Linked DNA regions of Homo sapiens: region 2 is linked to region 1. The links are contacts of gene promoters, found by promoter capture Hi-C in human tissues and cell types (Jung and others, 2019). All regions are on one chromosome and are shown on one strand. The core of a region is centred on a gene start or on the middle of the fragment in contact, and the rest is flanking DNA. Distances in the headings are between cores, read along the strand shown.

Evidence for each region. Contacts are between HindIII fragments. The study calls those that stand out against the background at their distance.
Region 2: a fragment that was not itself captured here is called in contact with the fragment with the promoter of RNF115 in region 1 in 3 of the 25 tissues and cell types used here (IMR-90 fibroblasts, mesendoderm cells and thymus).

What each region holds. Positions count from the first base shown.
Region 1 is chr1:145,819,619-145,825,909 of GRCh38, reverse strand. RNF115 (ring finger protein 115) reads left to right here and starts at 1,815. Exons shown (of 9, transcript NM_014455.4): 1 at 1,815-2,138. The coding sequence starts at 2,037. POLR3C (RNA polymerase III subunit C) reads right to left here and starts at 1,710. Exons shown (of 15, transcript NM_006468.8): 1 at 1,541-1,710; 2 at 1-153. The coding sequence starts at 133. RefSeq lists an enhancer at 1,450-1,849. The HindIII fragment of the contact is 19,576 bases long and covers 1-6,291 here.
Region 2 is chr1:145,699,611-145,705,901 of GRCh38, reverse strand. The region is part of intron 1 of PDZK1 (PDZ domain containing 1); the gene reads left to right. Among named protein-coding and RNA genes, the nearest start is that of PDZK1, 4.6 kb to the left of the region's middle. The HindIII fragment of the contact is 5,621 bases long and covers 1,081-6,291 here.

The DNA of each region.
Region 1 (6,291 bases), core at 566-3,065:
TTCCTGTGTCATGGGCAATTACTCTTAGTGGCTGGCTGCCGGTTCTTATCAGATGGACTCCAATTTTTTCTACAATCTCTCCAAAATGCTCTTGCAGCAACAAAGAACAGAGCTTAATTTCTGCTTGAGTCATTGTACTGGGGAGTCTGAGAGCTAGGGAAAAAACACCAAAATGGTACAATAGAAAGTCTTTCACGCTGGAAGCAGAGCTGCTGAGTGTAAATTCATGTATTCTTTCTGGAGGGCAATTTGACAATACATATCAAAAAGCCTTAAAAATCTTGCATATCTTTGAAACAACAATTTCTTTTTGGATATTGTGTCCAAAGAAAGAAAAAGCTAATAATAATGAAGTCATTAGTTCTCTTTATAATACCGACTTAGTGGAAACAATCTAACGTCTAACAATAAATGATGCCATACCCATACAATGGCATACTACACCAACATTTAAAGTTATTTAGTACGATGCGTATTCATGTAGAAAATTATTCATAATAGGCTGGCGCGGTGGCTCAGGCCTGTAATCCTAGCACTTTGGGAGACCGAGGTGGGCGTATCATGAGGTCAGGAGTTTGAGACCAGCCTGGCCAATATAGTGAAACCCCTTCTCTACTAAAAACACACAAAAAAATTAGCTGGGCGTGGTGGCGGGTGCCTGTAATCCCAGCTACTAGGGAGGCTGAGACAGGAGAATCGCTTGAAGCCGGGAGGCAGAGGTTGCAGTGAGCCGAGATCGCGCCACTGCACTCCAACCCGGGCGACAGTGCGAGATTCTGTCTCCAAAACAAAAAAAAACAAAAAAAATTACTCATAATATATTAAGTGACAGAAGCAAGCTGAAAAAATATAAAAATTCAATTATTGTAAAAAAAAAGGAAAAATGTATGCATAGGAAAAGACTATGCATCAAATTTATCTCTATGGGATTATGCGTGATTCTGATTTTCCTTAAAGATTGGGAGATGATTTTGCGGTCTGTCACAGACCTTAGTTTCTACACTTCACTGCTTGGAAGAATTAAGGTCACTGTTCACAGCTCGGTGGGAGTGAACAGGCAGTGTTATTCTCAGTCCATAAAGGAAATGATAATTTCGAAAAAGAAATTTAGGAGGTAAAGGACTGCTTCTCAACAGGGTGTGTCAAACAGGAGATGAGGTTACGTTGTTTGCAGGACAGTATTCAATTCTTAAACTTCTACTCCTTGACAAAGTTGACACAATCAGAAACGGACGTAGTTAATTTTATGATTACTTCCTTATTACAAATTGCTACCAAACATTGTTTACTTATTTCTTCCAATTCCTAAGAAGCCAAGTCTTTGCCTCCCCGTCCCCACCCCGCCTCAGTATCACCAGAGACCTATTTCGTCCATCCACATATCTTTGGAGAAGCATTCCCAGATCCTTTGCCATCCTCGGAAAGGGCTTCCAAGGCGCTTGGCTCCTAGCTCTACACTTCCTTTACACAGGTTCCCGTTTCGGACGTGGTCTCTTGGTCCAGTCAGTGCCGCCACGTTCAGACAGCATTTTCCACTAACCTCAGGGTCAGCGCAATCCGGGGGCTCCAACTCCAATTCGGCTGAGCTTCCCGCGACGGCTTCCTACGGCTCCCGCTGGCCTTCTAGGCCGAGGTGGAGCCCACCGCCCTTTCTAGGACGCGGATCGCCACCGAAGAAGACGCGGAAAAGCAAAAAGCGCGTGCCACTCTACCCCAGAGTTTCGGCGGCTTCCGGGGACGCTCTTTCTTTCTTCTCGCTGGAAGACTGGAGGACCAGCGAGGGGCTGTTTGTGGAGCCGGCGGGCGGGCCGTTTGTCTCTCCTTCCTGCGCCTCTTTGGTGCTGGGAGGCGGGCCGCAGGGTAGCTGTTGGCGCCGCCGCGTTTCTGGGCCTGGCCAACTCACGTGACCGACGCGGGCTCTGAAGCGGTGGGCCGCACCGAGGCGGCGGCGGCGGCGACGACTGCAGCTCGGGAGGTAGCGGCCTGGCGAGGGACGGGCCGGCTGCCCTCTCGGACGGCCGCGGCGGAGGGCAAAAATGGCGGAGGCTTCGGCGGCCGGGGCGGACTCGGGCGCCGCTGTAGCCGCCCACCGGTTTTTCTGCCACTTTTGCAAGGGCGAGGTCAGCCCCAAACTACCGGTAAGAGCGCTGTGTTCTCTATACTTGGGAACCTCATAGATTCCTGGCCCCGATTTCCCGGAACTGGGTCTGGAGCTTTCTGCACATCATTGACTCGCCCGACATCGGTCTGCCGAATACCTGCTGCCCACTTCTAAGCCGCCGGCCCTAAACCCTGGGCATCACGGCCTCGGCCCCGTACCTCCTGCCCACCTCTTAATTCATCCTGGGCTGCTCCACCTGACCTCACCTCTTTACCTCCCGTGTCCTTAATTTTTTTTTTTCTTAGCAAGTTTCCCTCTGATAACTCTCCCCTCAATTTTCTTGCATTCTTTTATACCTGGTCTTTTTCCTACGATGACCTCCCCCCACACTTCTTCCACTGTGTCTTCTCACCTTCCTCTGTGTTCTTTTCCACTTTTCACCCCCCACCGCCCCCGCCACCTCCCTTGTCAGTGAAGCGAAATAGCGGATTGCTGAGGATTGTCACTCTTCGGTTTTTTCTAGGGAAGGAAGCACAGAAAGGGGGTTGGAAGGTATCTGTGGGGCGAAAAGGGGGATTTTGCTCTTCAGTGGTTTCCAGGGTCCTTGTGACAGTGAAGACAGCAGCGTACTAATGACTTGCAGACGGTCTGCACTCCTATCACTGTTGAAGGAAATGGCTTTAGGAAGAAGGCAGGACGTACTGTTTCAACTTCGTTTATTTTGGTTGTCATGCTGCCAGTGTCTTTAATATCATTGTTCCGCCCCCCGCCCTGTCCCTTTCTTCACCTAAGAAAAAGAGCCGGGACAGAATGTTGGGGATGCTTCCTCTGACGTGAAATTGGTTTTCACGAGTTTCTGCCAGAGTGTTAGCCCCTTGAGAGGCAGTGCTGTGGTTGGGAAGAAAACACTTTTGTAGGTCAGGCGCGGTGGCTTAGGTCTGTAATCCCAGTGCTTTGGGAGGACGAGGCAGGAGGATTGCTTGAGGCCAGGAGTTTGAGACCAGCCTGGGCAACAGAGTGAGACCCCTCTCTACAAAAACAAACAACATTTATGCAGCATACTAGCCAGCACCAGCATCACAAACCCAGAAACTGTTTTGGGTTGGGTTGTAGCTACTACGAGGAGCTCCCCCAGAGTGAATGTCAATCCTGTCCTTGGCCAACTGTCTTTATGGTTGTTCCTTTCCTTACAAGTGTCCAGGTTCAGTCTTGTGATAGAGTGGCAACATAATGTATGTTTCTATTTATGGTGTCTCAGATACAGTGTAGGAGAAAACCTTCTGAAGTGAGTCTGTATATCTTATTTCTTAGAAACACAAATGGAGTCCAGTGAATAAGTGCTTAAAGGGTGTTTTATAGTCTTCTCTCACTCAAAAGTTTTGTTTAAGGCATTATGATACATTCTTTCCTCTCTACTTGCCGCACCCCCTACTTCAGAGTCATAGTTTCATCTAAATGCTACTTAGCTGTTTTTCTTTTTTCTTTTTTTTTTTTTGAGACAGCCTCTGTCTATCACCCAGGAGCATGATTTCGGCTGACTGCAACCTCCACCTGCCGGGTTCAAGAGAGTCTCCTGCCTCGGCCTCCGGGTAGCTGGGACTATAGGTGCACGACCACCGCACCCTGGCTAATTTTTGTGTTTTTAGTAGAGATGCAGTTTCACCATGTTGGCCAGGCTGGTCTCGAACTCTTGACCTCAAGTGATCCACCCGACTCGGGCTCCCAGAGTGCTGGGATTACAGGCGTGAGCCACTGCTCCCCGCCTAAATGCTACTTAGCTTTGTTTGCTGATTTTGCTGTGTGTTTATGTTTTTTTTTTTGGCCATATTTCAGTGCTGGGAAGAGCAGGTGTCTAGTTTTTTTCCAGCCAACATCAGAGCCTGCAGAACTCTTCTACCATAGAGAGGGAGTCTGGAATTCAGCCAGTATGTGTGTGACCAGTGGTGTGTTGTTGAATGTGATGCCTTGTTGAATATTCCATCCTTAGCTTTTTTGATCTTTAAGTTGCTGTTCACTATTTTGCCTTTAAGAGTGAGAAGTTGGCCAGGCGTGGTGGCTCAGGCCTGTAATCCCAATACTTTGGGAGTCCAAGGCAGGCAGATCGCTTGAGCTCAGGAGTTCGAGACTAGCCTGGGCAACATGGAGAAACCCCGTCTCTACCAAAAAATAAAAAAATTTGCCGTGTGTGTGGTGGCATGCACCTGTAGTCCCAGCTATTCAGGAGGCTGAGGTAGGAGGATTGCCTGACCCCAGGAAGCAGAGGTTGCAGTGAGCTGAGATCGCACCATTGCACTCCAGCCTGGGCAATAGAGCCAGACCCTGTCTCAAAAAAAAAAAAAAAAAAAAAAAAAGAGTGAGAAGACAGTCTAAACTTCCCCAATTGATTATATCTTTTCTTCTCACCTTTAAGTCCTTACTTCAAAGGGATAATTTGAAAAGCTGAATAGGTGTTTTTCTAAGCCTTAGTTAATGCCTGGAGAAGTTTCTTGATCTTTTTGGTGTGATATATTATTTGTCATATCTGATTTGTAAATTGAGGCCTAACACAATTGAGTATAACCGGATTCTTCCTAAATATATCCAAGGTTCTCTGCTGAGTGTCCTGGAGGTGATAGGGAGTGATATGTGGCTCCTGCCCTTAAGGATCTTACAGCTTTTGGGGAAAGACAAGGCAAACATAGAAAAAGTAACAGCATAAAGGGAATGAGGATATGTGCTTTAGGATTCAGAGAGGGGAATTTCATAGCATTGGTGTGGCCAGTGGGATTTAAATTGAGTTTTGAGGGATGGGTACATTTCAGATTGAGAATTCCAAAGACTGTGAGGTAGCAAAAGGAAGAGGGAGTTGATGAAGAAGGGAGAAATATTTAATAAATCATGTTTTTTTCACAACTAAAAGTTGTATACTATATTTTTTATAGTGTTCAGCATGATTTGATATATGTATACACTGAATGGTTAAATCAAGCTATTTAACATGCATTACCTCACATACTTATTTTTGCGTGGTGAGAACACTTAAAATCTGTCTTAGCAATTTTCAAATATACAGTATATTCCCTTTTTCTTTTTTTGAGACTGAGTCTCGCTCTGTCACCAGGCTGGAGTGCAGTGGTGCGATCTCGGTTCACTACAACCTCCACCTCCTGGGTTCAAGCAGTTCTCCTGCCTCGGCCTCCCAAGTAGTGGGGACTACAGGCACGTGCCACCATGCCCAGCTAATTTTTGTATTTTTAGTAGAGACGGGGTTTCACCATGTTGGCCAGGATGGTCTCCATCTCGACCTTGTGATATGCCCACCTTGGCCTCCCAAAGTGGTGGGATTACAGGTGTGAGCCACTGCACCCGGCCTCTTTTTTTCTTTTTAAATAGAGACAGAATTTATTCTGTCTTGTTGCCCAGGCTGTTCTTGAATTTGTGGGCTCAATGTGTCCTCCCACTATATCCTCCTGAGTAGTAGTAGATAGGTGTGTTCCACCATGCCTGGCTAATTTTTTTTTCTTTTTTGTAGAGATGGGATTTTGCCATGTTGCCCCGGCTGGTCTCAAATTTCTGGGCTTAAGCAATCTGCCTGCCTCAGCCTCCCAAAGTGCTGGGGTTACAGGCATGAGCTATTGCGGCTGGCCTGATATGTGGTATTTGTTTTTAATTCTGTTTATGTGATGAATCACATTTATTGATTTGCCTATGTTGAACTAACCTTGCATCCCAGGAGTAAAGACTACTTGATTGTGGTAGATTAGCTTTTAATTTTTATTTATTTATTTTTTTGAGATGGAGTCTTGCTCTTTAGCCCAGGCTGGAGTGCAGTGGAACGAGCTCAGCTCACTGCAACCTCTGCCTCCTGGGTTCAAGCGATTCTCGTGCCTCAGCCTCCCAGATACCTGGGATTACAGGTTTGCACCACTAGACCTGGCTAATTTTTGTATTTTTGGTAGAGATGGGGTTTCCCCGTGTTGGCCGGGTTGGCTTTGAAATCCTGACCTCAAGTGATCTGCCTGCCTTGGCCCCCCAAAGTGCTGAGATTACAGGTGTGAGCCACCACACTGGCCTGCATTAGCTTTTTAATGTGCTGCTGGTTCAGTTTGTTAGTATTTTATTTAGAATTTTTGTGTCTGTGTTCATTAGGGATATTGGCCCGGAGTTTTCTTTTTTCATTGTGTCTTTGCCAGGTTTTGGTATCAGAATGC
Region 2 (6,291 bases), core at 2,642-5,141, 120 kb after region 1:
GCATGTGTCTGTGGTGTCAGCTACTTGGGAGGCTGAAATGGAAGGGTTGCTTGAGCCCAGGGGGTCGAGGCTACAGTGAGCCGTGATTGCATCACTGCACTCCAGCCTGGGTGACAGACTGAGATCCTGTCTAAAAAACAAAAAACCATGAATATGTTAAAAACACGATGTAAGATGCCTAGATTTCAAATGTGTATATCGAAAGTCTCTGTAGAATAGTAAGAAGAAACAAATTGCAGTCACTTGGGAAACCTTGTCCTAGTCTTTTAATCTCATTGAGCCTCTGTTTGCTCACTTACAAATAAGAAGTTGAGACCAGATCATCATTAATGTCTTTTTCAGTTGGCCAAGTATAAGGTAGATCCTGGAGCCTTGAAGGGTAGCTCCTTGTCATTGGGGTATGAATTAAAATGTCACCTCCCAGGAAGGACTTTCTAAATCAGCCTCCCACCTCCATGCCACCAGTATCTCTATCATTCACAGCGTGTACCATCAGAAATCATCTCATTTGGGCTGGGTGCAGTGGCTCACATCTGTAATCCCAGCACTTTGGGAGGCTGAGGCAGGTGGATCACCTGAGGTCAGGAGTTCAAGACCAGCTTGGCCAACATGGTGAAACCCCATCTCTACTAAAAATACAAAAATTAGCCGGGCGTGGTACTGCCTGTCTGTAGTATTAGCTACTTGGGAGGCTGAGGCAGGAGAATTGCTTGAACCTGGGAGGTGGAGGTTGCAGTGAGCCAAGATTGTGCCATTGCACCCTAGCCTGGGTGACAAAGTGAGACTCCATCTCGAGAAAAAAAAAATCATCTCTTTTACTTGTCACCTTTGCCAGATGTTAAGCTTCAAGACTGCAGGGATCTTGTCATTTGTGTTACTTGCTGTATTACCAGCCCCTTGAGCACTACCTGGCATAGAACATATTTGCATAAATGGAATTAGTGTGGCAGGGAAGGAGCTAGAAGAATAGATGCAGATGGCGATGGCTTTGATGAGGTGTTCCTCAGGAAAGGAGGTTGAAGGACTCCAATCCTCTCTCAGGGCATCTGAAGTCCAGGGTCTAATCATATGGGAATGGGTTTCTCTGGTCACTTCTTAGTGAAATGATTCTTGCATTCGTTGCATAGGGATGCAATGAGAGTGGCAAGCTGGAGCTAGACGTGTTTTCCTCAAGATCTCAGCAACTTCTTTCTTTGGTCCTTCATGAGGGACTGCCCAGATTTCCTTAATCTCTTTGCCTGATGGGTATCATGGCTAAGTGATTAAGAAAATGAGCACTGGGATTGGAAACCTGCACTCTAGATCAGGCTCTCTAAGCTTCTATTTCCTTGTCAGTCAAATGGGCATATTAGAACCTAGTTCCGGAAGTTATGAGGGTTAAATGAATGCACATAGTGTCTAGCACATCTTAAGTGCTATTGAGATAATCTTCAGACAGCTTTGCTATTACATGACCCCCGGAAATGAAGGAACCCAGGGAATGGCAGGAGTTTTGGAAAGTAGAAAAGATAGCCCTAGCCCACTTAGTGGCAACTAGAGAAGGTTTGCTTTTGGTCTGAGGTGGTCACTGGTTTCTGAGGTGCCAAGCCTGGTTGGAGGCACAGATAGTCAGCATTCATAAAGCTGCGTAGAACCATGGGGTCCCAATGGGGACATGAAACTAAATGATCCAGAAAAGCCCGTGGACTTTCCACCAGTTGTATTGAATACATACCTGATGGTGTGAGAATACAGAAAGGGGCTGTGGTGCCTGCTCTTAAGAAAGCTTATCTTGGCTGGGCATGATGGCTCACGCCTGTAATCCCAGCACTTTGGGAGGCTGAGGAGGGTGGATCACTTGAGGTCAGGAGTTTGAGACCAGCCTGGCCAACATAGTGAAACCCCATCTCTACTAAAAATACAAAAAGTAGCCGGGTGTGGTGGCGGGTGCCTTCAATCCCAGCTTCTCAGGAGGCTGAGGCAGAAGAATTGCTTGAATCCAAGTGGCAGAGGTTGCAGTGAGCCGAGATCGCACCACTGCACTCTAGCCTGGACCACAAGAGCAAGATTCCATCCCTCCTGGCCAAAAAAAAAAAGCTTATCTTGTTGGGGACACACGACATGGATCCTGAAGCTCCTCTATAGTCTACTGGACTGAGTCCAGTGCTCACAGTCTAACCTACTTCTTTTTTTCAACATATAACTGTGCTCTGATCTTTCTGAACCATTCACCATTCTGGGAATGCATCTCCTGCTGTTCCTTCTGCCTGGGATGACTTCCTCTTCCTAGTCTGACTACTTGTATTTCCAGAATACATTCTACACCTCAGGCCTGGGAGGCAGGGTAGATGGTGGAAGGAATCCAGACTCAACTGGGTTTGAATCCAGACTCTGCTTATCCAAATAGTCAGGGGAAACCAAGTTAACTTTTCAGAGTCTCTTTTCTTTTTCCTTGTAAAATGGCCCATCAGGATTGAATCAGAACCCATAAAAAGTACCTAGGCTGGTTCCTAATCCTAGTAGGGAGCTCAATAAATATATATAACAATAAGAAAGCTTTTGTATTTAAATATTCCAGCACCCACAACGTTGTTCAGCAGTTAAACTTCATAACTCTCCCCACTGGACTCCAGGCTCTTTCAGGGCAGGACGGTAGCTATTCTGGGTTGAGCCCTGATACCTGCCTCGCAGTAGGTATTACATAGAACTTGTTAAGTACATGAGCGATAACTGAAATTCAGAAGATGAAATGATACCTTCAGACTGTGGTGGTCATGGAAGGATTCGTATATAATCTAAAATTTGAACTGAGCCTTGAAAATGGTAGGTCTTAAATTCGTTCACTTGGAACAAATGTTTACTTAGCACGTACTATGAGTAAGTGCTCATGGGGCATGAGCAAAGGGCAGGCTCGTGTGGGTGACCATGCATAGACCAATTGGGGCTTGCTGAGGAGCTGGGGGCCTGAGGTAGGGCTGGATTATGCTGAGCCTCAGTGCCTGAGCAAGAAGCTTGAACTTCTTTTTTTTTGAGACGGAGTCTTGCTCTGTTGCCCAGGCTGGGGTGCAGTGGCACGATCTTGGCTCACTGCAAGCTCCGCCTCTTGGGTTCACACCATTCCCCTACCTCAGCCTCCCGAGTAGCTTGGACTACAGGCGTCCGCCACCACACCCAGCTAATTTTTTGTATTTTTAGTAGAGATGGGGTTTCACTGTGTTAGCCAGGATGGTCTCGATCTCCTGACCTCGTGATCCGCCTGCCTTGGCCTCCCAAAGTGCTGGGATTACAGGCGTGAGCCACTGCACCCGGCCGAGCTTCTTTTTCTTGAATTATTATTATTATTATTTTTGAGATGGTAGTATAATAAAACCAGGGTTAGAAAGTTTGTCTCGAGGCAAGACTCTTGTAGTAGTTTAAACATACCAAAAAAAAAGTGGGGGGGTAGAAATGCAAGTTCAAAAAGTCACAAAATGTCGATTTGGGGAAAGCACTTGTCTCAGCTGGCACTCAAGGCGGTTGAGCTGTCTATCAGCAGCATGAGGGTGTCCTCTCTCTGTGGGTGCCTCTGTTTCCACACAATATTGGCTCTATCCCTCTCCCAACTCATAGAACTCTTAGATAAGCAATCAAACTGTGAAAGGCCTTGAACTCCAGCCCAGAGTCTTGCCATATAGGACAAAGTATTGTTTATGGTGGCTGGAGGTAGGGAAGGTACTTAGTATCAGCAGGCCAAATGAACTTTGGGATAAGTAGATTCCATTCTTGATCATAAATGAGAAATAAAAACTACTCAGTGGGTCTGGGATCACTCTTCTCCAGATAATTCTCAATGGAATGGATTTCATTGATTTCTCATATTTGAAATTTATCCCTGGCTAAGACCAAACAGTAACTATCACAATGGGAAAGTACACTAGGCAAATACATATTTTAGAATCTTGCTTCTCCTTCTATTTTTGATATTAATTATTTAAAGTAAATATACTTGAGTATTTGAATTTCCATATGCTTTGCTTTTCAGAGGAGAAATCCAGGCAGCCTTAAATATGATCTGCATAAAAATATAGGATCTGTTCTAGGTAAAATATATTTGAAGAAGGGTGAAATTGAGTTGTCTTTATCTCTTCCTTGCTAGAGACATCTGTCAGTAGCAGCTCAGATACAGCAGGATTTTTTTGCTTATGCTGTTGGAAGGAACAGCATGTGCCAAGGCTCTGTGGCAGGCTCTGAAGGAGGCCAGCCATGGCTGGTGTGAGGCATGAAGCCTTGGAGTCAGGGCTGATGCCTGTAGGGAATTCTCAGCCTGTCTATAGTTGCTGGCTTAATGTTGCACAGTCTCCACCAACTGTATTTTCCTAACAAAAGTCTAGTGGGTTTGTTTTCTTCTTTCTTGTTACACAGATGCACACAAGTGCTGCAAGAACAGCATTCCTCAAAGTGCACACTGTGGTCAAGCGTCCTGAGAATGTGGCTTTTTTCTTGCTAAAGTTCAGAGTGTTTTATAGGCAAGCATGGAGTTCAGTGGAAAGCAAGTAATGTCTAGGTTTAATGTTGCCGGAGAGACCCTGCCCTTTCTTTTCCTTATGCCTCAACAAAACAGAAGTAACTTACTCTATGGTTTCATACTAGATTATACAATCAGATACCCTTCCACAGTCAGAGTAACTAGGGTTAAACATTCCTCACCAGCAGTCCTGCTAAGTGTTTGTTTTTTTTTTGAGATGGAGTCTCGCTCTGTTGCCCAGGTTGGAGTGCAGTGGTACTATCTTGGCTCACTGCAACCTCCACCTCCTGGGTTCAAGCAATTCTCCTGTCTCAGCCTCCCGAGTAGCTGGGACTACAGGCGTGTGCCACCACACCCAGCTGATTTTTGTATTTTTAGTAGAGACGGGGTTTCACCATATTGGTCAGGCTGGTCTCAAACTGCTGACCTCAGGTGATCCTCCTGTCTCAGCCTCCCAAACTGCTGGGATTACAGGCATGAGCCCCCGCGCCCAGCCCCTGCTAAGTTTTTAGTGTTTAGTGTTTTCATGGATTGAGTGTTGGTTATGTAAGTGCCTTGTGGGGAGAGGCTCTGTTGTCTTCGTGGTGTGATACTGACGGCATAATTGATTCCTAGTTACTATTAGATAAGGTGATGGTGGGTTCAGGTGTAGATGACTATATTTATGGAATAATCCTGCCACTTCTAAGTCCCAGACCTTGGAAGATGAGCAGAGATGACAGTACCTGGGCTGTTTCTTTCCTGATGGTATTTCATTGCATCTGGCCATCGCTGGTGACAGCCCCCTTCTGTCTTTCTCCCTCCAAGCAGAATGCTGTTTATCCCATGCCCTCTCTCTGATCTTTTGGCATTTCAGTGATGCTGTCTGGTGAGTGAGCCTATTCACTAGCTACTCCTTGGCTATGAAGGTCCCTCTCTGGGCCAGGTATCTATAGCTAAGGTAATGCTTCACTCACTCCATCTTCTCCACTGCTGTCTGTTCCTTGGGTCCCTATGTTCACTTCTGTTAGAGCTTATCCACTCCAGGCGGTGGAACTCTCTGGCCAGCTTAGTCTTGAAATTCTGTTAAAGCTCCCTGGACTCTTTTACCTCCTTGATACACAGCATTTGGTTCTATTTTGTAATTCCCTGGCTTTTAGACTTACAGGATACTTTTGAGTCCAGAGTTTATTATTTGAGCTTTCTTTCATGGGGAACAAAATCTCCAGCCCTGACTTTTCAGCAGCTAAAATTAGCTTCGCAGAAGTGATCTGGACTGAGTAGATAGAGAATCCCTTGCCTGATCATTGAGGTGCCTGCCCATTCTTAGTCTGTAATTTCTTCCTGTCTTCTGCAAAAAGAAAATCAGGAAAAATTTCAAATATTCTCACAGAAAATGGGATTCCCATTGCATCAGGCGTTTCATCAGAGGACAGGAAAGAGTAACTTGGATGGAGTGGACTTCTATGCTCCAGAAACTGTGCTGAGAGGCCTTGCATGCTCTACTGTGAGCCATCTTCACGGCATCCACATGTGCTTCCTATTCTAGGGGTATTCTATCTTCAGCTCAAAATTAAGGAACTCACCCATGTTCTTACAGTTAACAAGCGGTGAAGCCAGGATTAAAAACTAGGTTTGGCTCTAAAACCCTTGCTCTTTCTACTCTACCTTACTCAGAATCGATCCTGGGGGAAGATGGAAACAAAAATACAGATTCCCTTTTGTATACACATCTGGCTCCTTTAGAATTGCATCATGGGGAACTATTCTGCTCTAAAGATCTTTTCAGATAACTTTTCCTGTGTCAACCCACTAACTTTTGAAACTGC